Linked DNA regions of Homo sapiens: regions 2, 3, 4, 5, 6 and 7 are each linked to region 1. The links are contacts of gene promoters, found by promoter capture Hi-C in human tissues and cell types (Jung and others, 2019). All regions are on one chromosome and are shown on one strand. Each heading gives the region's core, a stretch centred on a gene start or on the middle of the fragment in contact. The rest is flanking DNA. Distances are from core to core; before and after follow the strand shown. Region 1 holds the start of LINGO3 (leucine rich repeat and Ig domain containing 3). Region 2 holds the start of ADAT3 (adenosine deaminase tRNA specific 3). Region 3 holds the start of GNG7 (G protein subunit gamma 7). Region 4 has its middle 6.2 kb from the start of CSNK1G2. Region 5 overlaps GNG7 (G protein subunit gamma 7). Region 6 overlaps GNG7 (G protein subunit gamma 7). Region 7 overlaps BTBD2 (BTB domain containing 2).

Region 1 (3,839 bases), core at 982-3,481:
ACTCATAGCAAGTGTCTCCTCCTCCGGGAAGCCTCCCTGGCCCCTGGCTTCGGTCCGGGACCCGGTGTCACTACTGCCTCTTCCACGCCGCTTTGTGACGATTTCATATTTCAGGCATCTGCTCCCTCTGTCCGAAGAAATCCCCCTTGAGGCTGGAAGCGTCTCCTCCTCCTCCCTCCAGCCCTTGGCCTGGTATACAGTAGGTGCTCAATGAACACCTTCCTCCAAGAGCCCTGAGAGCCAGCTATCAGGAGCATCACTTTACAGAGAAAGAAACACGTTCAGAGAGAGAAGGAGACCTCCCCTACTGGGGTCACACAGCACAGCAGCCCAGGGCCATTTGGTGGGGAGAGCATGGGGTGTCATGAAGTCCTTCTGGACCTCTCTGGGGCCAGGAATTGAACCATACCCGCCCCCCACAGCATCCTGTGGGGGGCCTGGCCTGCAGCCTCCCAGGGATGCGGTTTCTGGGCCTCCAGCCAACGCGACAGTCTGGGAACAGAGCCTGCTTGAGTCACAGGTGGCTGCGTGAGTGCCAGGCCACCGCCAAAGCCACTGGGAATACACAGCTGGTGGGGAGGACTGCAGAGTGGGTGAAGGGGGCAGACAGGGCAAGGTTACACACACAGGTTCCCGAGGCCTCCTTCTCACCCCTCACTTGGGACAAATGGCATCTCCCAGCCTTGGTTTGCTCATCTGTGAGACAGGGAGGCTAAATGTGGCTTTTAGAAGATGCAGTGAGGGGCCGGGCATAGTAGCTCACGTCTGTCATCCCAGCACTTTGGGAGGCCGAGGCGGGTGGATCACCTGAGGTCAGGAGTTCGAGACCAGCCTGGCCAACATGGTGAAACTCTATCTCCCCTAAAAATACAAAAATTAGCCAGGCATGGTCATGGGCGCCTGTAATCCCAGCTACTTGGGAGACTGAGACAGGAGAATCGCCTGAACCCGGGAGGTGGAAGTTGCAGTGAGCCAAGATTGCACCACTGCACTCCAGAATGGGTGACGAGAGCAAAACTCCATTTCAAAAAAAAAAAAAAAAAAAAAAGACAAAAAAAAAGGTAAAAAACTTTCCATGAGCACTCGCAGTGCACTTGGTGTGTGCGCTGCTGTGTGCTAGGCGGAAGGCACATTGGGGAACAAGCCCATTAGACAAACTGAGAGGCTCCAAGCTGCTCGATGGAGGGACAGAGAGAAAGGCTGTCCAAGCTGGGCACAGCGAAGATCAAAGGCCTGGGACTGGAGGGACTTGGCCTGTTTGAGGAAGGCTGAGGGGGTGGAGCCCGGGAAAGAGTGAGTGAGGACAGGCCAGGGGGAAGGAGGTGGTGCGGCAGACCAAACAGTGCAGGCAGCCGGGCGGTGGCTCACACCTGTCATCCCAGCACTTTGGGAGGCCGAGGTGGGTGGATCACCCGAGGTCAGGGGTTTGAGACCAGCCTGGCCAACATGCTGAAAATCCGTCTCTAATAAAAATACAAAAATTAGCCGGGCGTGGTGGCGGGTGCCTGTAATCCCAGCTACTTGGGAGGCTGAGGCAGGAGAATCGCTTGAACCCAGGAGGCGGAGGTTGCAGTGAGCCAAGATGGCACCGCTGTACTCCAGCCTGGGCAACAGAGCAAGACTCCATCTCAAAAAAAAAAAGAAAGAAAGAAAGAAAGAAAGAACGAAAGAAAGAGAAATTCCAGGGTAGGTGGGGTGCAGACGGGACCCTCACGGCAATAGGGAATCACGGCAGGTTCTGGAGCCCAGTGGCTAAGCTTCCTCTGAGGGGCTTCCTCTGAGGGCCACATAAGGAATGGGCCTGGGCTGGGCTGTGGCAGATGTCCAGGTGCAGATGGTGGCGGCCTGGACTAGGGGTGGGGGACGGGGGGCAGAGGAGGCGATGGTAGCTTCCAGAAGGTTCCACACGGAACAACCTGCTGCACTTGGGGTGCCCCTGCGTTTATTGCACGGCACGGCCGTCTCCGCAGGCTCACCCAGGCCGTGGGGACAGGAGGTCCTCGGACACGAAGCGCCCGGGATGCGCACGGAGGGGTTCTGCACCCGCGCTCCCAGTGTCCCCGCACCTGCGCCCACGTGGCCTCTCACACCTGCGGCCCCAGCCGCCGCGCACGCGGCCCAGCGCAGCCCCCGCGCGCCCCCGCCAGGCGCGCCGAGGAGACCGGCGGGCGGTTGCGCGCGGCGGCGGCGCGCACGGCGGAGCCCGGGAGGCGGCGGCGGCGGCGGCGGCGGCGGCGGCGGCTGCTCGTGTCGGCTCCGGGCGGCCCCCGCGCCGCAGCCCGCGCCGTGTCCGCGGCGGAGCCGCCCAGGTGAGTGGCCGTGCCGGGGCCCGGCGTGGGGCGCGCCCGCAGACCTGGGGACCCCTCACCTGCACCCTGCGACCCTGCCGCCCAAAGCCCCCAACCCGCGACCCCATCCTCAGCCGGGGGAAATTGCCCCGCGCACCCCTCCCGGGCTCATCGCTCCTTGCCAGGCCCCCGACGCTCCCCCTGGAAACTTTGGGGGCGAACTCCCCACCCTGGGGCCCCCCGCCCCTCCTCTGGGGCGCCAAGGAGCGGGGAATCGGGTGGGCATCTCCCCGGGGCACTGGGGACGCTGGGAGGATGCGCTCCTCTCCAGGAGGAGATGAAGGGGGCACTGGTTGGGTCTGGGGTGTGGGGAACGTCCGAATAGAGCCTGCAGCCCGCGCCTTCCTGCCCTGTCTCCCCCGAGCCGGGTCTGGTCCAGCCTGGGGGTGCGGAGCTGGAAGACGCAAAGGGTATCTGGGGTCCACACCGGAGCCTGCTCCATCGCTGGAGCTGACGGCCCGGCCTGGCGGGGAGGGACCTGGGGGCATAGGGCTGAGTCCCCCTGCTCTGGGGGCGTCTGAATAGCACCAGAAATGGTGGGCCTGGGCACCCTGAGTGGGTGCCGCCACCTCCCGGGCCTCTGGGGCCTGGCCAGGGGAGGCCCTGAGTCCCATTCAACAAGTTTAGGGGAGCAGCACCTCGTGCCTTGGTCCGGGCACAAGAAAAGCCCCGGGTCCTTACGCTGGAGACCACCATGTAACTGGGTTTCTCAACGTGTGCTTGGGGCGCTAACGGTGCCGGTGTCCCGGCCCCCCCAGTTCTGAGGAGTCAGAACTTCTGAGGCGATGTGCCCCAGAAGCTGCATTTTAGCAAGCGGTCCCTGGCTAAACCATGGACGCAGCGAGGCTGCAGACACCCTTGCTCCGGCGGGGGTGGGGAGCGGGCGTCTGCTGTGCAGTGGTATTTGCAGAGGGACGATCTGGGGCTTGGCTGGGGGGAGCCTTCAGGGACAACAGAGCTGTGAGAACCAGAGCAACCCAGGAGGGCTCCCTGGAAGTGGCCTGGAGAGGATGCAGAAGGTGTGAGGTGTGAGTGGTCAGGTGGAGGACGCAGGCTGGAAACAGGTTCAGGGAGGGTGGTGCTGGCTTTATCAGGAGGCTGGTGTGGGGTGGGCTGCCGCGGCATGGCCTTACCCTGGCTGTTCTCTGAGCCGAAGCAGCAGCCATCGTCGGAGACAGGATCTGAGTGGGAAGAACCCACGGGCTTCCCCTGTAGACCCAGCTCCTGTCCCCATCTCGATGATGTGGGGTGGCAGGAAGGGGGCAGCCGGGCGGTGGGATGGGGGCTTAGGAGGGTTCAACTCAGCCTTCCCTGCCCTGCCTGTCTGGTCTTCACCGGTGACTTCCGGCAAATGACGTCCCCTCTCTCAGATCCACCCCACATGGGATTAAATGAGATGCTGCCCACCTCGGCTGCAGTGTGGTGCCACCATAAAACAGATGCTCAGGTCACGATGGTTACGGCAGCAGCCCTGCCTGGCCTCCCTCAGCC
Region 2 (3,839 bases), core at 827-3,326, 400 kb after region 1:
TCAGGCACCAGTCCTGACTCCTCCAAGCCTCGGCTTCCACCCCTGTGAAATGGGAATTCCTGCTCTACCTTTTTTTTTTTTTTAAGGCAGGGCTGTCAGGTACATAAGAGAAAATGGGGGGATGGAGGGGCCTGACCATCTTCAGCAGAATCCAGGAGGGCTCCTCGGAGGCAGTGACCCACAGCCCAGCCTGGAAGGCTGGGGAAGTAGGGGAGAGAACTCGGAGAGGGAACAGCTAATGCTCAGTTCCAGGGCACACCAATAGTCTGCGTGGGGGCTTTTTTTTTTTTGGGACAGTCTCACTCTGTCCCCCAGGCTGGAGGGCAGTGGCGCGATCCTGGCTCACTGCAACCTCTGCCTCCCTGGTTCAAGCAATTCTCCTGCCTTAGCCTCCCAAGCAGCTGGGACAACAGATGTGCACCACTATGCCTGGCTAATTTTTTATATTTTTAGTAGAGGTGGGATTTCACCATATTGGTCAGGCTGCTCTCGAACTCCTGACCTTGTGATATACCTGCCTAGGCCCCCCAAAGTGCTGGGATTACAGGCGTGAGCCACTGCGCCCAGCCTGGGGCTTGTTTCTTTACACACACACACACACACACACAATTTTTTTTTTTTTTTGAGACGGAGTCTCACTCTGTCGCCCAGGCTGGAGTGCAGTGGCACGATCCTGGCTCACTGCAAGCTCTGCCTCCTGAGTTCACACCATTTTCCTGCCTCAGCCTCCTTTGGGAGTAGCCGGGACCACAGGCGTCCACCACCATGCCTGGCTTTTTTTTATTTTTAGTAGAGACAGGGTTTCACCGTGTTAGCCAGGATGGTCTTGATCTCCTGATCTCGTGATCCACCCGCCTTGGCCTCCCAAAGTGCTAGGATTACAGGCGTGAGCCACCACGGCCGGCGCTACACGTATGTATTTTATTTATTTATTTAGAGACAGGGTCTCGCTCTGTTGCCCAGGCTGGAATGCAGTAGTGCCATCACAGTTCACTGCAGCCTCAACCTCCGGGGCTCAAGCAATCCTCCTGCCTCAGCCTCCCAAGTAGCTGGGACCACAGACATGTGTCACCATGCCTGGCTTATTAAAAAAAAATCTTTTTTTCTTTTTTTTGGAGAGTGAGTCTTGCTAGCTTGCTCAGCCTGGAGTACAATGGTGCCATCTTGGCTCACTGCAACCTCCACCTCCCAAGTCCAAGCGATTCTCCTGCCTTGGCCTCCCCAGTAGCTGGTTTTACAGGCGCGTGACACCACGCCCAGCTAATTTTTGTATTTTTGGCAGAGATGGAGTTTCACCATGTTAGACAGGCTGGTCTCGAACTCCGGACCTCAGGTGATCCACTCGCCTTGGCCTCCCAAAGTGCTGGGGTTATAGGGTGAGGAACTGCACCCAGCCGTCCTTGTTTCCACGGAGTCGATCCTCTGTTTCTGGCCACCCTACAAGGAGGCCTTCTCTGCAAGACAGCGGGGAACCTCGGTCCTCGGGGTAGTGTGTGGGAGATAACTGGGGGCCTGTGATACAAAAACCTGAAAAACTCATACTCTAGGTAACGATGAGGAACGATGGTCAATTCTGGGGATGTACCAAGGCCTAGGGGAATCTCCACATAAAGGCGAATCAGAGCTGGGGAGGAAGGACGCGAAGGCTACGGAAACTCGCGAGAGCGCGGTTCAGAGGCAGGGGACTGCGGGACATGACCTGAGGAAGGGCCACCGGAAGCAGCTGGAGGATACGGGGTCTCCCGCACCGACCATAAGGGCGCACACGCGCAGAAAGGCGCTAGGCCCGGGGGAGCGCGGTCCTGAGGCTTCCCCCAGGCCAGCGCCGCGCGCGCGCGCGCACGCGCATTCGCGCCGCCTCCCCGCGTCGCCCACCGGCCCGCCCGAGACGCGCGCGAGGCTGGCCTGGGCCCCCCGTTTTCTCCCCACAAACGGCCGGCGCCCCTCACCGCCGAGACCCCCCATGTCAGCCCCTACTCCCCCTCTGGGGAAGTCTGAGCCTGGAGAACCCGAGACCTCGGGGCCGCGCGCTTACCTGAGGGATCCGGGCGCGAGCGCAGCGCTTCGCCAAGTCTTAGCAACCGGCCCGGCCCAACCCACCTCACCCCGCCTCGTCTCCGCCTGGAGCCGCGGAGCACGACGGGAGCGTAGTTCCAGGGGCGGGATCTTCGCCAGGCCAAGGTGGGGCAAGGACTACAATTGCTAGTAGGCACTGCGCGCCGCCGCCTCGCCCCGCCCCGCTCCGGCACTGCGCTCACATGACCTCCGGGCGGCGGGAGGGGAGGAGAGGCGGGGCCGCTGCGCTGGGCGAGCGCTGAGTTTGCAGGTTCGAATCCCATCAAGCGGCCAGGGAAAACTCGGAACCCGGGGGATCTTTGGAAGGTTAGCAGAGTGGGAAGGATGAGGCAGAGGGGGTATATGACACCCGTCCCCTGAGTCCGGGATGGGGCCAGGTTCCAGTTCTGCCTGTTACTGCACTCCGGCGTGGGCCGCCCTCAGGTTTGAGTTTTCTCACCAGTAACGTAGGTGAAGAAGACCTCTTGCCTCTCCTGGGCCAAACAAGCACATTTTTTTTTTTTTTTTTGAGACGTAGCCTCAGTCTGTCACCCAGGCTGGAGTGCAGTGCTAGGCTCACTGCAACCTCCACCTCCTGGGTTCAAGCGATTTCTGGCTAGTTTTTGTACTTTTAGTAGAGAAGGGGTTTCACCAAAACATGCATATTTTATGAGCAATTTGTTACTCCTTCCAGTTGGACAGGTTTAACCAAGTGGTTCTCAACGGGAGGGAATTTGTCATCCCCTCCCCCAACAGCTTGACAGTGCCTGGCTGTAACCAGCTCAGGCTCCGATGCCAGAGTCTTGACAAACCAGTAAGGAGGAAAAAGTGCAGTGAAAGGAAGGTGACTTCCTTTCAGAGTTCGCAGCAGGGAGGCAGCTGGTTTAGGCCTCCAGAAACCCCTTCAAACTTGAGGCTGGGGTGAGGGGCTAAAAAAGGGGAACTGGGAATGGTGGGTGTGCAGGGGAGGTGCTGATTATAAGCTCTGTGTGTTCATGAATTTTGGTGGCTTAAAAGCGCAGGCTGGCCTCATCCTAATAAGGGCCGGGTTGCAGACCACCTTGAGGAAATCTCTGGGATTTTGCAGGTGGGTCTCCGTGCTTGGCCTGTCTCCAGATTAGCTCTAAAACGTTCTTTCTTTTTTCTTTTTTTTCGAGACAGTCTCGCTCTTGTCACCGAGGCTGGAGTGCAGCAGCACGATCTCAGCTCACCGCAACCTCCACCTCCCAGATTCAAGTGATTCTCCTGCCTCAGCCTCCCGAGTAGCTGGGATTACAGGCACACGCCACCACACCTGGCTAATTTTGTATTTTTAATAGAGATGGGGTTTCTCCATGTTGGTCAGGCTGGTCTCAAACTCCTGACTTCAGGTGATCTGCCCGCCTCGGCCTCCCAAAGTGCTGAGATTACAGGCGTGAGCCACCGTGCCCAGCCTGTTCCTGGAACTTTTAGGTAATCACATAATTAGATGCATACAGTTAGGTAAACCTGCAGAGTGTGAGGGAGTTTATGGTGAGAAAGGGGAGGACGTGTTTCAAAGAAAGTGCATTTCAAGGTCGGATGCGGTGGCTCATGCCTGTACTCCCAGCACTTTGAGAGGCCAAGGTGGGTGGATCACCTGAGGTCAGGGGTTCGAGACCAGCCTGGCCAACATGGCGAAACCCCATCTCCACTAAAAATACAAAAATTAGCCAGGCATGGTGGCAGGGGCCTTTAATCCCAGCTGCTGGGAAGGCTGAGGCAGGAGAATCACTTGAACCCGGGAGACGAAGGTTGCGATGAGC
Region 3 (3,839 bases), core at 791-3,290, 390 kb before region 1:
CCTATTCTGCTATCAAACATTAGAATGTATTCCTTCTGTCTAACTGAATGTTTGTACTCATAACTCACCTCTTTTCATTTCCCCCCCACTCAACCTACACAACTTTCCAGCCTCTGGTATTGATCATTCTACTCTCTACCTCCATGAGATCAACTCTCTGGTTCCCACGTATCAGTGACAACATGCCCTATTTGTCTTCCTGTGTCTGGCTTATTTCACTTTTTCACTTAATATAATGACCTCCAGTCCCATCCATTTTGCTGCAAATGACAGGGTTTTATTCTTTGTTATGGCCGAATCATATTGCATTGTGTATTTAACACTTTTTTTTTTTTTTTTTGAGACAGAGTCTCACTCTATCGCCCAGGCTGGAGTGCAGTGGTGTGATCAAAGCTCACTGCAGCCTCAACCTCCTAAGCTCAAGCGATCCTCCTGCTTTCGCCTCCGAAGTAGCTGGGACTACTGGTGTGCGCCGCCAGGCCTGGCTAATATTTTAATTTTTTTGTAGAGTTGCGGTCTCAGTATGTTGCCAGGCTGGTCTTGAACTCCTGGGCTCAAGCGATCCTCCCGCTTCAGCCTCCCAAAGTGCTGGGAATACAGTCGTGAGCCACCGTGCCCTTCCCAAGCTCTATCTAGACAGTCATTCCTCTTGGGGGATGCCAGCTGGGGAGAGCCTGGAGGAGGGCAAGCAGGGAGATGGAGGTTTCTCTGTGCCCTGCAGGGCAGGCCACTGGAGTCCAGAGGATGAGCAGGGAGGTTCTTGCAGGGATGACAGGAACCCTGGGGAAGTTTATCTTGGATTTTGGCCAGCAGCTCCAATCCCAGGGCTCAGGTGGGGCGGCAAGGACACACAGTGTCAGCGCCTGATGAAATCCCTGAGGTCACAGAATATGGTGGCTCCATCTTCCTTCCAGGGCTGTGTACTGCTTTTGGAGACATACAAAGTGTTTTCCAATATTCCCAAGGGAGCTTGTGGAAAATGAAGATTCCAGGCCTGTAATCCAAGCATTTTGGGAGGCAGAGGCAGGAGAATCACTTGAGCCCAGGAGTTCAAGACCAGTTTGGGCAACATAGCAAGACCCCATCTCTAACAAAAAAAAATTAGCCAGGGCCAGGCACGGTGGCTCACGCCTGTAATCCCAGCACTATGGGAGGCCAAGAAAGGTGGATCACCTGAGGTCAGGAGTTGGAGACCAGCCTGGCCAAAACGGTGAAACCCTGTCTCTACTAATAATACAAAAATTAGCTGGATGTGGTGGTGCGTGCCTGTGGCCCCAGCTACCCGGAAGGCTGAGGTGGAAGGACTGCTTGAGCCTGGGACTTCAAAGCTGCAGTGAGCTATGACTGCACCACTGCAGTCCAGCCACGGCAATTGAGTGATACCCTGTCTCAAAAACAAAACGAAAACTAAACAAAACACAGATTTCAGGGTCCAGTTCCCTATAGGATTCTGGTTCATTCCATCTGTGTTGGGGCTCAGGAATTTGTGGATCCAGGGCCATGAGTTAGGAAACTGAGAAATCTTGGAAATGATGAGACAGGCTTGGGCAAATGACCTTAGGTTTCACCTTTCTGAGACCCAGTTTCCACCTCTGTAAAATGTGGATAGTAATCTCGCCTTCTGGCCTTATGCGGAGGGTCCCACGAGAGGGAGCCTATAAAGTCTTCAAGAAAGCGGTGCAGCAGTTATGATCACTGACATTCTTCCCCAGCAAATGAGCCCCCGGAGCTGGCATGCAGGATTCGAACCAGCTCACCTAGCGCGGGATTCGAACTCGCGAAACTACTCGCGCCTTCCTGACGTCACGAAGTCACCCTGGAAAGCCGCTCTTCGCCCCGCCCCCGGCCCCGCCCGCGCCCGGAGCCCCGCCCCACTCTCCTGGGCGCAGCCTACCCCGCTGCCTGCCCCGCGCCCCGCCCCCGCTCCGGCCTCCCGCAGCCGGGGCTCGCGATTGGCCTTGCCGGGACGCCAGGGCCCGCCCCCCGAGTGTCGGCCCCGCCCCCGCAGAGGGGAGCGAGCGCTCGCGGGCCGGGGCGGAGGGTTCGGCTGCGCGGCGGGGCTGAGGCGGCCGCGGGGCCCGAGCGCAGGTAAGGGCGCCCGCGAACCGGGCCAGGGGAAGTGAGGGCGCGGCCGGCGTCCCGGAGAGGGGACTGGGACAGCTCGGATTCGGCTGCGGACCGAGTTGGGGGTCGGAGTCGGCTGAGGAGGGGGGCTGGGTCTGGGGACCCGGGCTGCAACTGGAGGCTGGGGTTGGAATTGGGGACGGGGCTGCGCTTAGGGGGTCGAAGTTAGCTGGGGAGGGGCTGGGGTTGGGGATTGGGACTGCACTTGGGGCTCAGGGCTAGCTGGGGAGGGGGCGGGAGTTGCAGGTCGAGGTTAGCTGGGGACGGGGCAGGGGGTGCAGATCGAGGTTAGCTGGGGAAGGATTGGGTCTGGGCATTGGGACTCCACTTAGAAATCAGGGCCAGCTGGGGAGGAGGCTGGAGTTGCAGGTCCAGGTTAGCTGGGGAGGGGGCTGGAGGTGGGATTGGAGGTCTGAGTTAGCTGAGGAGGGGGCTGGGGGTGAGACTGGAGGTCTGAGTTATCTGGGGAGGGGACTGGAGTTGCAGGTCGAGGTTAGCTGGGGAGGGAGCTTGGAGCGGGATTGGAGGTCTGAGTTGGCTGGGGAGGGGTCTGGAATTGCAGGTCCAGGTTAGCTAGGAAGGGGCTGGTGGTGGAATTGGAGGTCTTGAGTTTGCTGGGGAGGGGGCTAGAGTCGCAGGTCGAGGTTAGCTGCCGAGGGGGCTTGGAGTGGGATTGGAGGTCCAAGCTAGCTGGGGAGGGGGCTGGAATTGTAGGTCGAGGTTAGCTGGGGAGGGGGCTGGAAGTGGAATTGGAAATCTGAGTTAGCTGGGGAGGACGCTGGGGATGGTGTTGGGGGTTGAGGTTAATTGGAGCGGGGAACAGGGGTTGAGTCAAGGGTGCAGCTTCTTTGAAGAGGGAGCTGGGAGTGGGGTTGAGGTTTGCAGGGAGCTGGAGAGGGGGCTGGGGATGGAGTTTGAAGTGGGGTTCATTGGAGAGGGGGCTGCAGAGGGAATTAGATGTTGAGGTTGTCTGGGGAGAGGACTGAGGAATGGGGTTGGTGAAGATGGGGGGGTGTGATTGACGGCCCAGGGGTTAGGGTTAGCTGAAAAGGGGCAGAAGGACAAAGCTGGGGTGAGCCAGGGAGTGGCTGGAGCATACAGGTGGGGGTCAGGCTTGTTCCAGAAAGGGTCTGGGGGCTATCAGGGGAAATGGGGAGCTTGTGAGTGTGTGGGGTGGAAGGGGGTTCAGGGAGAAGGAAGTTGGGGTGAGTTAGTGAGAAGGGAGGTGGGGGTAAGGTCCCAGGCTGGAGACACCTGGGGGCAGGTGTTTTGCTAGACATTGACTAATCAGGAGGAAAACGGGGTGTGGGGAGGTGTCTCAGGTAGGATCCAGTTAAAAGGAATTTGGAGAGGACTCACCCCTCTACTTTTGGGGGAGATGTTAATTGTTTGCTCTAGAACTGGGCACGGGGCAGAACCCCCTGGGGAACAGTGAGTTGAAGGAGACGGGAGTTCGGAATACTTTTTGAGGTTTATTTCTAGGATATAGGGTGCCAAGGAGAACGCTTCAGGAAGGAGAAAGGCTCCTGTCGGTGACTGAATTTTTCAGGAACTAAAGTGGGAGTTTTTGGGACGGTGCTATTGAGCGACGTGGGTGGCACTTTATTTTTCCTGGGGAGCGGGGGTTGCTAGGGGTTGGGAGGTGGGCGGTGGAAGACAGGCTTGATGAACAGAGGCAGCGGATCCCCAGCTAAGCGTCTTCACACGGTTGCTAG
Region 4 (3,839 bases), core at 716-3,215, 370 kb after region 1:
TTCTGTCTATGTCTCTGTCTCTCCCTGTCTCTGTCTCTCTATTTGTCTTTCTGCCTCTTTCTTCCTCTGCCTCTCTCTCTGTCTCTCAAGCTCTCTGTCTCTGTCTCTGTGTCTCTCCCTTTCTCTTCCTCTCTCTGTCTCTCTCTCCCTTCCTAGCTCTGTCTGTCTCTATTTCTCCCTCTCTATCTCTCTCTGTCTCTGCATCTCTCCCTCTATCTCCAACTGTGTCTCGTCTCTTTCATCCTCTGTCTCCGTCTCTCTCTCCCTCTCTATATCCCTCTGTCTCTATCTCTACCTCTCTATCTCTCTGTCTCTCTCTCCCTCCCCACATCTCTCTCTGTCTCTACCTTTCCCTCTCTCTCTCCCTCTCCTTGTCTCTCCGTCTCTGTGCCTTGGCTTCATTCTTTCACTCCAAGCTTCTTCCGTCCGTGGTGGCAGCTGTGGCTTAGTTTAGCAACCCCCAAATAAAACAGAGCTCTTCTCTCCCAGGATCGCTATAAAATCCCAGGAAAGTCTCTTATTGTCTGGCATTGGCCCCTCCCAGATGACTGGCCAGGCCTGGTTTAGGCAATGTCCTGGTGACCAGAAGGGCAGGTTCCACGAGGGGCAGCGCCCTGAGAACACAGGAGTCGGGTGGGCCAGGTTCCCCACAGCAGGAGGAGTAGTTGCCGGGGAAGGGGAAGGACGCTGAGCAGATGACAACAGCTGCCTGCGACTTGGCGGCAGCGTTCAGAGCAGCTCCAGTGACAAAGGGCTTTCCCGCCTGGAGTGGCTCACTGCCCAGTCTTGGCCCTGCCAGCCTCAGTGGCCTCCCTGCAAGGGGACAGTCCTGGCCATCATCTCCGGGTCCAGCTCTGGACAGCAGGGATCAAGTGACTCATGCCCTGGGCTGAAAATGTACATGACCTTGCAATTTTCCTGAATTTGCTCCAGGAACAAGAGACAAAGCTAATTCCCAGGAAGAGGAGGAGGGATCTGCCCTGTAGTTGCCCTTGACCAGGTCCCTGGGCCTCAACCTTATCTATAAAAGGATAGAGTTGAAGACGGATTGAACTGCCAAATTGGTTTCCTCCTGGTGCTGCTCGATTGATTGGTGATGTCTGCTTTGTGCATGGGAGGGAAGCAGTGTGGGCATCATTGGTTGATTGGTGATGTCTGCCCTGTGCACAAGAGGAAGGAAGGCAGGACAAACAGCAGCGTTCCCCAGTCAACCAACATCATTGCTTGATTGGTGATGCCTACCCTGTACACAGGAGGAAGGAGGTCAGGAGAAACATCATTCGATGATTAATTGGTGATGTCTGCCCATGTTGCCATGTTGGCCAGGTTGGTCTCCAACTCATGACCTCAGGTGATCCACCTGCCTCAGCCTCCCAAAGTGCTGGGTTTACAGGCATGAGCCACTGCGCCTGGCCCGATTCTACAACTTTTTTCTATTTCCTCATTTTAGATCATTCCAGAACTTTCTGGGAATTACACCCAACAGTCTCTAGTAGGGCATAAACACAGACTTGGGGGAAAAGAAGACCTGTCTTTGCAGCCAGTGGCGACACCCCTTCCCAGCTGGGAGGCTGGGCCTGCCCAGCACTGCATTCCCATATGCAGCGCAGCCAACGGAACAGGGCGACGTCAGGAAGTTTTGGTGGGTGAGGAAGCAGCACAGAGCAGGGTCTGCCCTCACCCCCACCAACCGCAGGGACAGAGCCTGGCGGCAGTGGGTGGCCCCAGAGCCAAGTGTGGGGCACTGGGATCTGCCTCTTCACAGGGGCACGGGATCCAGTCAGAGGATGGGTGACTCTGAGAGAAGTTTCTCTCCTTTGTCTACTTTCTCTGCTGTCCCAGAGAATGAAGGCTCATCCTGCAGCGTCCTTTGAGGGTACATGGCTGTGTGTTTGTGTGTCTGTGTGGGATGCTGTGTGTTGATGTTTGTGTGTGTCTGTGTGTATGTCCATGGATGGGTGTATGTTTGTGTGTTTTGTGTGTCTGTCTATGATGTAACATGTTGGTGTGTGTGGATACATGTCCATGCATTTGTATTTTGGGTTTTTTTTTTTTTTTGAGACGGAGTCTCGCTCTGTCGCCCAGGCTGGAGTGCAGTGGCGCAAGCTCCACCTCCCGGGTTCCCACCATTTTCCTGCCTCAGCCTCCCGAGTACCTGGGACTACCGGCGCCCACCACCACGCCCAGCTAATTTTTGGTATTTTTAGTAGAAACGGGGTTTCACCGTGTTAGCCAGGATGGTCTAGATCTCCTGACCTTGTGATCCACCCACCTCGGCCTTGCAAAGTGCTGGGATTACAAGCGCGAGCCACTGCGCCCGGTCATATTTTGTGTTTCGTGTTTTGTTTTTCTGAGACAGGGTCTCCCTCTGTCACCCAGGCTGGAGTGCAGAGATTCAATCATAGCTCACTGCAGCCCTCACTTCCCAGGCTCAAGTGATCCCCCTGCCTCGGCCTCCCAAAGTGTTGGGATTACAGGCATGAGCCACCGCAACCGGCCTGCATTTTGTATATGTGTTTGTTGTTTTCCAGTGTGTATGTCCATGTACATGTGTGCACGGGTGTGTGTGTGTTAGGTGTGTCTGTGTGAGGTGGCATGTTGGTATGTGTGGTCCATGTGTTCATGCATTTGTGTCATATGTATCTGCGTACATGTGTGCATATGTATGTGTGTGCACATGTCTGTCTCTGGGTCTTTGTGTGCGTGGGTGTGTGTGCGCACCTGTGCATCTGGGTGTGTGTGTGTGTGTTCGTCGGTGGGTCTATGGGGGGGTGTGCATTTGTGTGCCTGTGTTTGGCATGCCTGTGTGTGGTGTGTGTTGGTTTGTGTATTGTGTGTGTGAGCATGTGAGTGCCTGCATGGGGGGTATTCAGGAACGCTGCTGTGAATGGCATCGCTCAGCGTCAGGGAACCGTCTTGCTCCAGGTTTTGGGCTGTTTCATGGAGGCTGGGGGATGTTCTTGTTGATGATGCAGCCCACTTGGACTTAACTTATTTTTGGTCATATTGCACCTAAATGGTCCTCCTGGCATTCACTCTGTTCATTTGCCCCTGGTGCCTGGGGACTCCTCCCATGGTGGTGACCAGGGTCTCTCCCACATCTCTTGTCACCAAGGCCAGCCACAGAGGGCAGCCTGCAGTGGACAGGGTGCAGGACAGGGCAACAATGACCATGATGCTTCATGGAAGATGTGAGCTCCCCCCAGGGAGCCTCCCATCCAGAGCCCCCACCCCTCAGCTCGATGGAATGCCCAGCCCCTTGGTGCTGCAACCCCAGTAGGAGGGTGGCATCCTGGACCCAGGCAACAGGGATGCTGCATGCCACAAACACTGAGACACAAAGAAGAAGTGGTTCAAAAGCTGGGTGTGATGGTCACAGATTCTTTGCTGCTCCTCCCACGGAAAGACACAGTTCATTTCCCCTCCCCTGAATGTAGCTGCTCCTGTGACCTGTTTTAGCAACAGAAGGCAGGGGAAGTGGTGCCTTGAGACTTCTGAGGGAGGGTCTTACGAGCTCGACAGTAGGCTGGGCATGGTGCTTACACCTGTCATCCCAGCACTTGGGGAGGCCGAGGCGGGCAGATCACCCGAGGTCAGGAGTTTGAGACCAGCCTAGCCAGCACGGTGAAACCCTGTCTCTACTAAAAATACAAAATTAGCTGGGCGTGGTGGTGGGCACCTGTAATCCCAGCTACTCGGGAAGCTGAGGCAGTAGAATCACTTGAACCTGGGAGGTGGAGGTTGCAGTGAGCCGAGACTGCGCCATTACACTCCAGCCTGGGTGACAGAGTGAGACTGTGTCTCAAAAAAAAAAAAAAAAAAAAAAGAACTCAACAGCG
Region 5 (3,839 bases), core at 706-3,205, 360 kb before region 1:
TCTCTTGCCTCAGCCTCCCCAGTAGCTGGGACTACAGGCACCCACCACCATGCCCGGCCTATTTTTGTATTTTTAGTAGAGACGGGGTTTCACCATGTTGGCCAGGCTGGTCTTGAACTCCTGACCTCAGCTGATCTGCCTGCCTCCGCCTCCCAAAGTGCTGGGATTACAGGCATGAGCCATTGCGCTCGGCCTACTTTTAAATTATTTTTGTAGAGATGGGGTCTCACTGTGTTGTCCAGCTGGTCTTGAACTCCTGGCCTGAAGTGATCCTCCTGCCTCGGCCTCCCAAAGTGCTGGGATGACAGGTGTCAGTCACTGCACCTGGCCCCAAATGAGATATTCCGAATGCCCTTTGCAGCCGAGGTTTTCTGGCGAGCACATAGAGGTGAGGTATTCACGCACAGAAGATAGATGGTAAGAAAAGAAACAGCCGTTTTCTGCATTTCAAAGAAACAAAACCTTGGGGCTGTGAAAATTTTTGTTGTTTGTTTGTTTGTTTTTTGAGAGGGAGTCTCACTCTGTGGCCCAGGCTGGGTTGCAGTGGCGTGATCTCTGCTCACTGCAACCTCCGCCTCCCGGGTTCAAGCGATTCTGCCGCCTCAGCCTCCCAAGTATCCGGGATTACAGGCGCAGCACCTTGCCCGGCTGATTTTTGTATTTTTAATAGAGACGGGTTGGGTTTCACCATGTTAGCCAGGCTGGTCTCGAACTCCTGACCTCAAGTGATCCACCCGCCTCAGCCTCCCAAAGTGCTGGGATTACAGGCGTGAGCCACCGCGCCCGGATGAGTGTGTGTTTTGTGTGAAGGGATGCTCTGTGCTAACTCTGCCGTGTGATGTTGAGGATCGGAGGTGAATCTTTTTTGACAGGACCCTCATCTAATTTCAGGATGGAAGACTGGAACACTGCCTAGATGAGAGTATTTAGTTGCTGAAATGGTGCTATTTTGTCTTAGACTGTTTTGCGAGGGTCTCAACCAATGGCCTTGGGGGCAAATCCAGGCCACCTGTTACTATAAATAAAGTTTTATTGGCACACGATGGGCCATGCCCATTTATTTATGCATAGTCTATGGCTGCTTTCAAAATACAACAGCAGAACTGTGTAGCTGCAACAGAGAACATATGTTCCGTAAGGCTGAAAATTTTTACATCCTGCCCTAGACAGAAACACTTTGCTGTGCTCTGGTCTAGTCCAGAAAGGAGGTAATCTGGCCAGGCAAGGTGGCTCACACTTGTAATCCCAGCACTTGGGGAGGCTGAGCAGGGAGGATCGCTTGAGCCCAGGAGTTCAAGGCCAGTCTGGGCAACATAGCAAGATCCTATCTCTATGAAAAGTAAAAACTAAAAAAGCAGGCATGGTGGCTCACACCTATGTAATCCCAGGACGTTGGGAGGCTGAGGTGGGCAGATCACCTGAGGTCAAGAGTTTAAGACCAGCCTGGCCGACATGGCGAAACCCCATCTCTACTAAAAATACAGAAATTAGCCGGGCATGTTGGCAGGTGCCTGTAATCCCAGCTACTCGGGAGGCTGAGGCAGGAGAATCCCTTGAACCCGGGAGGCTGAGTTTGCAGTGAGCTGAGATCGTGCCACTGCACTCCAGCCTGGGCGACAAGAGCAAGACTCTGTCTCAAAATAAAAATGAATAAATAAATACAATAAAAATTAAAACATAAGCCGGGCACGGTGGCACTTTGGGAGGCTGAAGCAGGCAGATCACCTGAGGTCAGGAGTTCGAGACCAGCCTGACCAACATGGTGAAACCCTGTCTCTACTAAAAATACAAAAATTAGCTGGGCGTGGTGGCGGGCGCCTCTAATACTGGCTATATGGGGGACTGAGGCAGGAGAATCACTTGAACCCGGGAGGCAGAGGCAGTGAGCCAAGTTCGCACCACTGCACTCTAGCCTGGATGACAGAGCAAGACTCCATCTCAAAAAATAAGTAAAATAAATTGAAAAAGAATAATAAAAGGAGGTAATCCAGGTTCTAAATAATAAAGCCAGTATGTGCCATGACCCATGGCTCAGACACCACTTTAAACATTTTATAGATACTCATTTATGTAATCTCCAAAACCAGTCTCACAGGGTGGATGCTGCTTCGATGTGCATTCTACAGAGTGGGAAACTGAGGCACAGCGACAGTGGCAAGGGACTGAAGGTCACCCAGCCAGACAGCGAGTCGTGAAGTCAGAATGGAGTAGCTCTTGTCCAGCACTCCACCTTGGCCATACCAGAGCGTACGTCCCCACCCAATCCTTCCTCGGGACTCAGTGGAGCTATTTTCACATTGAGGGGAAATAGAAATCCGTTCGTTCTCATTTTCTTTCTTTTTTTTGTCCCGCATGGCCCTCTTCCCAAATCCTTGTTGCCCGTCTCACCAGACATTCCAGTTCCAAGAGGTGGGGTGTGGCGAGGACTGTCCAGCACGGCAGGGTGATCCTGCCCCCCCCCCCCCAGGGGACACTGGGCCATGTCTGGGGACATTTGTGGCTGTCACCATTGAGAAGTGCTCCGGGCATGCAGTGGCTGGAGGTCACGGATGCCGCTCAGCGTGCTGCAGTGCTCAGGACGGCTCCATCCCAGAGAATGGTACAGCCCCAGTGTCCACCGTGCCTGGGAGGAGAGACTCAGCATTCATTATTTGGAGAAGAAATGGAGTCTGCTTCCTGCTCACCAGGACACACTCCTGATGGGGCAGACGGTGTAAACCAGGGGACCCCAGCTCGTGGGATTCACCTCCTCTCTCCCTCCCCCCAACTAAAGGTGTGGATTTCAATGTGTGCAGCCTCCTGGGACCTCAGCAGGACAGAAGATCAGGGGACAGAGTATCTTGGGGGTCCGTGGAATTTCCTAATTCAGGGGGTGTCAACTGAGGGTGATTCTGCCCCAGGGGACACTGGGTGTTGTCTGAGGACATTTGTCGTTGTCACAACTTGAGGATGGTCGTGGCGTGGAGTGGGTGGAGGCCAGGGACACTGCTCAGCACCCTGCAGTGTCCGGGACAGCTGCACCCTAGAGAATGACCCAGCTCTGAATGTCCACGGTTTCCAGGGGAGAGACCTTGCATTAACTGGCAAAAAAATGAGTTTGCTCCCTGCTCACAGTAGACACCAGAATAGATTCCCGATGGGGCAGACGGTGTCAGCCGGGGCCATCCTCCCAGAGTGACCTAGAGGACTGGGTGAGGAGGGTCTCTAGAGCACTGAGGGTGCAGGACACAGAGCCAACCGTCTGATTGTTCCTTCCCCCTCCTTGACCTCGGCTCACAGAGACCTTGAACCCTCAGGGTCAAGCAGGCCTGCCCCTTTGTTCTGTGTGCCCCAGGGTGCAGTGGAGCCTGTTCCAGGTCACGCCCGGCCTGGCCGTCATCAGTCTCGTGGCTCTGAAGCAGCCACGTCACTCCCCCAGTCCCGGCACCTCCCCTGCGCCTGCACCTGGGTGAGAGCCCGTCCAGGCCTCTCTGCCCCCTTCCTTTGCAATCAGCACTTTGCTGGTGACATATTTAGATGGTTGCTGTGGTGATGAGTGAAGGCTGAGGTTGACAACTTCAGCGATGGCACAAAGGACAGGGCTGTGTTTCTATATCCAGCCTCCAACGAGACAAGACGCCCCTGCCACGTGCTGGCAGAATGTCAGCGTGGGAAGGGAAGGGGGCTCTGACAGCCCGTCCTGCCCACTCAGTTCCCAGAGGAGGAAGTGCAGCCGGGCCTGGGGGGCGGTGGAGGATAGGCCTGTCATCAAATGTCAGGTCCCTGGCTGTCCTGCCCTTGAGGGACATGCCTTAGAGCATTGGGTCTCAACTGGGGGCAAGCCTGCCCCCTGGGGGACA
Region 6 (3,839 bases), core at 519-3,018, 340 kb before region 1:
CACAGCAACCTTGATCTCCCAGGATCAAGCGATCCTCCCATCTCAGCCTCTCGAGTAGCTGGGGTCACAGGCGGGCACCACTACACCCTCCTAATTTTTAAATTTTTTTTGTCAAGATGGGGTCATTTTGTAGAGATGGGGCGACTCGCTGGGAGGACCCTGGACTCCGCATGAGGCCTCCTTGTGACTGTGGTTTGTCCCAGCAAGAGGACATGGAGCACAGAGCAGAGTTTGGGAAGGGAAAGGCTCGTGGGGTGGGTCGGGGAGGCCAGGCCCGGCTTCTAGGCCCAGCTTCCAGGCCCTCTCCCCATGTGTCACGCGGGACACGCCACATCCCCAGCAGCGAGCTGGGACAACAGCCCAAAGCACTGTCACCAGCGAGGCTCCCAGAGACCCAGCACCCACGTTCCTATGGGGGCTGGTTCTGCTGCCCCTGCTGCCTGACCCATGCCAGGATTCCAGGCTCCAGAGGGAGGCAAGGATTTCATATAAACCACGGTGTTTGCAGGAACAGCTTTGGCCCTGGAGCTTGTCCTGTCAGTGATGGTGGCAGGGTCCCCCCGAGTCCCCCGAGGTGGGGAGTTCCTGGTCGCAGCCTCAGGCATGTGGTGCCAGCCTGGTTCTGCTCAGAGACTGCCCGTACCAGCTGAGCTGGGGCTGAGGGACTTCCCAGGATGCAGGACTTTCAGGCTAACTCTGGAAAAGTCCTGGGCAGACCTGGATACGTTGGGTGCCTTCTGGGCACCGTGGGACTAACTCAGCCCCTTCTTCTTCCTCCCAGGGAGATCGTGAGGCTCCAAAGATGTACAGAGATGTTTTTGATAAACTGTGAAGAGCCGTAGAAACATCAATCCTTGCACTCAGTTCAGTTTTCAAACACGTGGAAAATGTATTAGGAATAACGTCATAAATCTCTAATAATAAATATTTTCAGTGAATTGTCTTCTGCTTTTTTCCTTTTCTATTATTTTTTTTTTTGAAGCAGAGTCTTGCCCTGTTGCCCAGGCTGGAGGACAGTGGCTCGATCTCAGCTCACTGCACCCTCTGCCTCCCGGGTTCAAGGGATTCTCCTGCCTCAGCCTCCTAAGTAGCTGGGACTACAGGCACCCACCACCACGTTGGCTAATTTTTATATTTTTAGTAGAGACGGGATTTTGCCATGTTGGCCAGGCTGGTCTCGAACTTCTGACCTCATGATCCACCTGCCTTGGCCTCCCAAAGTGCTGGGATTACAGGCCTAAGCCACCGCGCCTGGTTGCCAAAATGATTTCTGTCCTTGTCCAATCACAAGCGCGAGGCCGTTCTCCAATGCTGACCCCATCAACACATGCATGGTGCCTCCAGCCAAGCCACGCCAAACTAACTCTATGTGTTTTTTCCAGGGAGTGGAGCTTGGTTTCGGGATCTCGGTGCTGCAGACGGCGAGACCTCCTGCACAGGTCGGTGCTGTAATGCATTTCTTTGTTATGATTTGAGGTTCAGTTGGCTGTTTTGCACCCTGGATGTAAGACGTGGGGTTGCCGTCAAGGCGGGCGTCTTGGCCTTGACCTGGGTCTGTCGGCTGTTTGTATCCACCAAGTATGGGTAATGGGGAGCAGGTGTGGGTAACAGCTGCTAGCTCCTGGCAGAGTTTCCCGCCCACGAGGCAGGGAACGTGGCACTCACTGGTCCTGCTGGTGCCGGAGCCCCTGGATGGGGTCAGGGTGGGAAGCCCACAGCGGTGCTGCATGCCTTTCCGGTGTCTTCGTGCCATGGTAGGGAGTTTTAAGGAGCCTTCACCCGTATCTCCTGTGCACCTGGAGAGTGACCCGTCGCTGGCCCTTTAGCTCTCCTCTGTTGATTTACTCCTCGTTTTTCTCCCTAGAGAATCATGAGTGGCTTTTAAAATGTAGGAAGAGGAAACCATTTAAAAATAAGTAGAAAGGAAGGCAGAAATGTCCAGAAAAGGCAAAGCCATAGGGACAGAAAGGGACTCGTGGTGATTGGAGGCTGGGGACATGAATGTGCACCAGAGACTTGCCAGGGACGTGGAAATGGACCCGATGGTCGGGTCGGGGTGACCGCAACCTGGTGAACTTACTTAAAAATCTTAAAACAAAATTTTTTTTTAAGAGTTAGGGTTTTGGCCAGGCATGGTGGCTCATGCCTGTAATCCCAGCACTTTGGGAGGCCGAGATGGGTGGATCACCTGAGGTCAGGAGTTCCAGACCAGCCTGACCAACATGGTGAAACCCCATCTCTACTAAAAATAGGAAAATCAGCCAGGCGTGGTGGCAGGTGCCTAGAGTCCAAGCTACTCGGGAGGCTGAGGTGCGAGAATCACTTGAGCCTGGGAGATGGTGGTTGCAGTGAGCCAAGATCATGCCACTGCGCTCCAGCCTGGGTGACAGAGCGAAACTCCTTCTAAAAAAAAAAAAAAGAGAGAGAGAGAGAGAAAAGAAAGAAAGAAAGAAAAACAGAAAAGAGTTAGGGTTTGCTTTGTTGCCCAGGCTGGTCTTGAACTCCGTGGCTCAAGTGATCTTCCTGCTTTGACTTCCCAAAGTGCCAGGATTACAGGTGCGTACCATTGCACCCGGCCCTGAAGTATCTTTGAGCAGTACACTTCACTTGAATTTTATGGCATGTAATGTGTACCTTAAAAATGCATATTTTAGCTAAGCCCAGTATAAATCATTTTGGTCTCATCCTTAGTAGTCAATGGTCATGAGAGGTAATTCAGAAACAGATGTACTCAAAAGTCAAGAATATGTTCAAATTTAGCAATAAGGCAAAGACTCCAAATGTCCATCAATGGGTGAATGGATCAGCAGAACATCCTCCATCCACACCATGGAGTGTTACTCAGCCATGAAAAGGAATGAAGCTTTGACACAGGCCACAGTGTGGATGTACCTTGAGGACGTCACGCTCAGTAAGAGATGCCAGACACAAAAGGCCACACAGCATGTGATCCCCTTTCTACAAAAGGTTCAGGACGGGCCGATCCACAGAGGCAGGGAGGGGATGCGTGGGTGCCGAGACTGGGAGGGGCATGGGAAGTGATGGTTGATGGGTTTCTTCTTCTTGGCATAATTAGAATGTTCTGGAATTAGTGGTGATGGTTGCAGGACTCTGAATGTACTAAATGCCATTGAATTGTGCGTTTTCTTTTTATTTTATGATTTTTTTCTTCTTTTTGGTGCCGCAGATAATACTCAGAAAGAATTATGCATTTTAAATGGGTGCACTGTATGTCATATGAATTACATCTCAATAACATGATGCATGTATAGATAGAGCATTATATATATATATATATATATATATATATATATATATATATATATATATATATAAAGTGTAGGCCGGGTGCAGTGGCTCACACCTGTAATCCCAGCACTTTGGGAGGCCAAGGCAGGTGGATCACCTGAGGTCAGGAGTTTGAGACTAGCCTGGCCAACATGGCGAAACCCCGTTTCTACTAAAAATACAAAAATTAGCCAGGTGTGGTGTTAGGCACCTGTAATCCCAGCTACTTGGGGGGCTGAGGTGGGAGGATTGCTTGAACGCGGGAGACGGAGGTTGCAGTGAGCTGAGATTGCGCCACTGCACTCCAGCCTGGGCGACAGAGCGAGACTCCATCTCAGAAATAATAAAATAAAATAAAGTGTAGATGCAAAAAGTGTAGATATAAAATATATGTATAATATTTATTTATGAAGCCAAACATAAAAATGTAAAGGACTTCATATTGTACAATTCCACTTACAGGAAAATTCTAGAAAAGGTGACAGATCAGAGGTCGCCTGGAGGCTGGGGGGTTGGGATCGGGGCAGCTCTGGGAGTCGATGACAGCGTCC
Region 7 (3,839 bases), core at 767-3,266, 320 kb after region 1:
TTTTGAGATGGAGTAGCGCTCTGCCACCATGGCTGGAGTGCAGTGGCACGATCCTGGCTCACTGCAACCTCTGCCTCCCGGGTTCAAGTGATTCTCCTGCATCAGCCTCCTGAGTACCTGGGACTACAGGCACACGCCACCACGCCTGGCTAATTTTTGTATTTTTAGTAGAGACCCGGTTTCATCATGTTGGCCAGGATGGTCTCGATCTCCTGATCTCATGATCCGCCTGCCTCAGCCTCCCAAAGTGCTGGGATTACAGGCCTGAGCCACTGTGCCCAGCTGAAAAAAAAATGTGTTTAGAGACAGGATCTCACCATGCCCACACTGGTTTCCAACTCCTGGTCTCAGGCAATCCTCTCGCCTCTGCCTCCCAACGTGCTGGGATTACAGATGTGAGCCACTGCTCCAGGCTGGAGACATTTTTTTATTTTTTATTTTTTTTTTGAGAGGGAGTCTCACTCTGTCTCCCAGGCTGCAGTGCAGTGATACGATCTTGGCTCACTGCAACCTCCGCCTCCTGGGTTCAAGCGATTCTTGTGCCTCAGCCTCCCAGGTAGCTGGGATTACAGGTGTCTGCCACCACACCTGGCTAATTTTTGTATTTTTAGTAGAGGGGGATTTTGCCATGTCGGCCAGGCTAGTCTCTAACTCCTGGCCTCAAGTGATCTGCCCGCCTCGGCCTCTCAAAGTGCTGGGATTACAGGCGTGAACCACCAGGCCGGCCTGTGCTGCTTTTTTTTTTTTTTTTTTTTTTTTTTTTTTTTGAGACGGATTCTCGCTCTGTCTCCAGGCTGGAGTGCAGTGGCGAGATCTCAGCTCACTGCAACATCTGCCTCCCAGGTTCAAGCGATTCTCTTGCCTCAGCCTCCCAAGTAGCTGGGACTACAGGCGCCCACCACCACGCCCAGCTAATTTTTGTATTTTTAGTAGAGACGGGGTTTCACCATGTTGGCCAGGCTGGTCTGGCACTTCTTGACCTCAGGCGATCTGCCCGCCTCAGCCTCCCAAAGTGCTGGGGTTACAGGCGTGAACCACCAGGCCCAGCCTGTGCTTCTATTTTTGATCGGCCCAACTTCTGATCTGTATTCAGTGTCGTGTGGGCCCCTCGCTGGCAGGTGGTAATAGCGTCCATGATTATCCATGATCCTAATTAGCGTGTTGGGTTCTATGATCCACCCAGAAGTGGTTGAGGTTTTCGGTGGTGCCCGAGGTGGGGAACCAACAGTTCCTCATGGAAAAGGTGCCCAAGAAGGAGACACCCAGCTCCCAGTGCCCTCTCCTGGGGCATCCCGGGCAGAACAAGACAGGCCATATAGACGCTTCCGGGTGTGTGCTGTGTAGATGGGTTCAGCCTCTTGCTCGTTTTCATGGGTGACCACCTTGCCAAGTCGTGTCCCTATGTCAGAGGGCAACGGACAGGGGCTAATTCTGGAAGGTTCCTCGGGGAACCTGATGTGGGTGTTTGGGTCCTGCCAGCTCAAGGGCCGGTGGCCGAGTCTAACGGTCTGAGTGGTCCCCTGACGCTCTCCCCTGGGGGCGGGCATGGCGGTCCCACCTCACGGCCACCCGCGTTGCTTCTGCAGGTTTCTCTACTCGGACGAGGTGCAGATTGGCCCGGAGACGGTGATGACCACGCTATACACCGCCAAGAAGTACGCGGTGCCAGCGCTCGAGGCCCATTGCGTGGAGTTCCTGAAGAAGAACCTGCGAGCCGACAACGCCTTCATGCTGCTCACGCAGGTGGGCGGGGCCGGTACGAGGCGGGGGCGGGGCCAGGCCTGGCTGGAGGCGGGGCCGGGGTGGGGCGGACCGAGGCTGGAGGCGGAGGCGGGGCCGGGGGCGGGCCCGGGAGGCAGCAGGCTCCTGCCTGGTAGTAAAATGTGTTTTGGGCCGGGCGTGGTTGCTCACGCCTGTAATCCCGGCACTTTGGGAGGCCGAGGCGGGCAGATCACCTGAGCTCAGGCGTTCCAGACCAGCCTGGCCAACATGGCGAAATCCTATCTCTACTAAAAACACAAAAAAGAGCCGGGCGTGGTGGCGGGCACCTGTAATTCCAGCTACTTGGGAGGCTGAGGCAGGAGAATTGCATGAACCTGGGAGGTGGAGGTTGCAGTGAGCCGAGATCGCACCACTGCACTCCAGCGTGCATGACAGAGCGAGACTCCACCTGAAAAAAAAAGATGTGTTTTGGACTTTTCCGTGATACTTCAAAAAATTATTGGCAGGGTGCGGTGGCTCACGCCTGTAACCCCAGCACTTTGGGAGGCCAAGTAGGGAGGATTGCTTGAGGCCCGGAGTTCTAGACCAGCCTAGGCAACATAGAGAGACCCCGTTTCTACAAAAAATTAAAAAAAGATTCAGGCCGGGCACTGTGGTTCATGCCTGTAATCCCAGCATTTTGGGAGGCTGAGACAGGCAGATCACCAGAGGTCAGGAGTTTGAGACCAGCCTGGCCAACATGGTGAAACCTCATCTCTACTAAAAAAAAATATTTCATAAATTAGCCAAGCACGCTGGTGCATGTCTGGAATCTCAACTACTTGGGGGACCAAAGCAGGAAGATTGCCTGAGCCCGGGAGGTTGAGGCTGCAGTGAGTGGAGATGGCGCCACTGCACTCCAGCCTGAGTGACAGAGTGAGACCCTGTCTCTAAAAAAAAAGTAAAATAATTTTTTTTTGAGACGGGGTTTCTCTTGTTGCCCAGGCTGGAGTGCAATGGCACGATCTCAGCTCACTGCAACCTCCGCCTCCAGCGTTCAAGCGATTCTCCTGCCTCAGCCTCCACAGTAGCTGGGATTACAGGCCCCCACCACCGCGCCTGGCTAAAAAAAAAGAAAAAAAAAAACCAGAGAGAACTTTCTCTCTCTCTCTAAGGAAATGTCAGGTAGACAGAGCAGGGCCAGGGATCTCAGGGGACCCCAGTTGGGCTCTGTGCAGCCCAAAGGGCGGGGGCTGGGGAGGTCGTGCAGGCCAGGGAGGCTGAGAGGACGTGGGGCCAGTACGGGTGGACGGCCGCTTGGGAGCCGTGAGCTCCTGGTCGGGGGTGGAGGGTGGCCAGAGGGGACAGCGGCACTGGGTCCTCCAATGGGCTTTGGGGGTCCGGCATCCTGGAAAGGACCCAGAACCTTCTCCCCCTCCATCCTGGCAGGTCAGATGCAGGGCATCCCGGACTCCCACAGGGAGGGGTTTCTTGTCCGGGTCATCTGGTCGCCTTGCTGGAGAGGCCTCTGCCTGAGCTGAGAGGAGGCTGGAGCTCACTCCCCGGGCTTCATCTTGTGGCTGCCTCAGCCTCCCTGCCCCTAAAACCACTACGAACCCACTTGAGAGGTGTCCTCGGGAGGATGCCCGCAGAAAGGCCTGCCCGGGTCCCTGCTGGCATAGGCCCTTCCAGCACCTTCCACTAACTAAGCCTCTGTTTCCCTAAGAGCACAGGCGTCCTCCAGCTCTGTCACCTGACTGTCAGAAGTCATGTCTGCTGTTTGTCTTGGGATGGAGCTGCCGGGGACACGGCCCCTCCCACCACAAGTGGCCAAGGGCATGTTGTGGTCGGGAAGCTTCACCGGTCGGCCCCGGCCACCTCACCTCTGCCTGCCACTCGGGGTCCTGGGCCCTGCTGCCCCCCGAGTGCAGCTGCAACGCCCCTTTTGCCTAAAGCAGCAGGCCCTGCCGACAGGGACCTGAGCATCTTTTTCTTCCTTCCTTGGCCTCTGAGGTCCTGAGAGGGAACTCCCCAACTCTCCCGCCCCAGTCAGCGGTCACAGGGGAGTCTCTGGGCCCACAACAGGGCCGGCCTGGTGGCTGAGACCCTGGTGGCTCCTGGCCACGCTCAGGAAGGCC

What was found. Contacts are between HindIII fragments. The study calls those that stand out against the background at their distance.
Region 2: the fragment with the promoter of ADAT3 here is called in contact with the fragment with the promoter of LINGO3 in region 1 in 8 of the 25 tissues and cell types used here (IMR-90 fibroblasts, adrenal gland, bladder and 5 more).
Region 3: the fragment with the promoter of GNG7 here is called in contact with the fragment with the promoter of LINGO3 in region 1 in 4 of the 25 tissues and cell types used here (IMR-90 fibroblasts, mesenchymal stem cells, spleen and 1 more).
Region 4: a contact is called between a fragment that was not itself captured here and the fragment with the promoter of LINGO3 in region 1, in 2 of the 25 tissues and cell types used here (pancreas and spleen).
Region 5: a contact is called between a fragment that was not itself captured here and the fragment with the promoter of LINGO3 in region 1, in 2 of the 25 tissues and cell types used here (spleen and stomach).
Region 6: a fragment that was not itself captured here is called in contact with the fragment with the promoter of LINGO3 in region 1 in 5 of the 25 tissues and cell types used here (dorsolateral prefrontal cortex, pancreas, spleen and 2 more).
Region 7: a contact is called between a fragment that was not itself captured here and the fragment with the promoter of LINGO3 in region 1, in 2 of the 25 tissues and cell types used here (adrenal gland and spleen).

Annotation. Positions count from the first base shown.
Region 1 is chr19:2,306,546-2,310,384 of GRCh38, reverse strand. It overlaps LINGO3 (leucine rich repeat and Ig domain containing 3), which reads left to right and starts at 2,231. Exons shown (of 2, transcript NM_001101391.3): 1 at 2,231-2,309. The HindIII fragment of the contact is 18,961 bases long and covers 1-3,839 here.
Region 2 is chr19:1,903,636-1,907,474 of GRCh38, reverse strand. ADAT3 (adenosine deaminase tRNA specific 3) reads right to left here and starts at 2,076. Exons shown (of 2, transcript NM_138422.4): 1 at 2,036-2,076. It overlaps SCAMP4 (secretory carrier membrane protein 4), which reads right to left and starts at 2,076. Exons shown (of 7, transcript NM_079834.4): 1 at 2,036-2,076. RefSeq lists enhancers at 1,573-1,662, 2,683-2,742, 3,023-3,082 and silencers at 1,823-1,972, 2,023-2,352. The HindIII fragment of the contact is 31,876 bases long and covers 1-3,839 here.
Region 3 is chr19:2,700,895-2,704,733 of GRCh38, reverse strand. It overlaps GNG7 (G protein subunit gamma 7), which reads left to right and starts at 2,040. Exons shown (of 5, transcript NM_052847.3): 1 at 2,040-2,088. RefSeq lists a silencer at 1,755-2,144. The HindIII fragment of the contact is 6,266 bases long and covers 1-3,839 here.
Region 4 is chr19:1,933,005-1,936,843 of GRCh38, reverse strand. No RefSeq gene overlaps it. Among named protein-coding and RNA genes, the nearest start is that of CSNK1G2, 6.2 kb to the left of the region's middle. The HindIII fragment of the contact is 4,225 bases long and covers 1-3,839 here.
Region 5 is chr19:2,663,988-2,667,826 of GRCh38, reverse strand. The region is part of intron 1 of GNG7 (G protein subunit gamma 7); the gene reads left to right. Among named protein-coding and RNA genes, the nearest start is that of MIR7850, 35 kb to the right of the region's middle. RefSeq lists an enhancer at 1-13. The HindIII fragment of the contact is 9,228 bases long and covers 1-3,839 here.
Region 6 is chr19:2,643,824-2,647,662 of GRCh38, reverse strand. It overlaps GNG7 (G protein subunit gamma 7), which reads left to right. Exons shown (of 5, transcript NM_052847.3): 2 at 1,383-1,439. Among named protein-coding and RNA genes, the nearest start is that of MIR7850, 15 kb to the right of the region's middle. RefSeq lists an enhancer at 3,727-3,839. The HindIII fragment of the contact is 9,525 bases long and covers 1-3,839 here.
Region 7 is chr19:1,990,924-1,994,762 of GRCh38, reverse strand. It overlaps BTBD2 (BTB domain containing 2), which reads left to right. Exons shown (of 9, transcript NM_017797.4): 3 at 1,587-1,743. Among named protein-coding and RNA genes, the nearest start is that of BTBD2, 23 kb to the left of the region's middle. RefSeq lists an enhancer at 951-1,451. The HindIII fragment of the contact is 3,931 bases long and covers 51-3,839 here.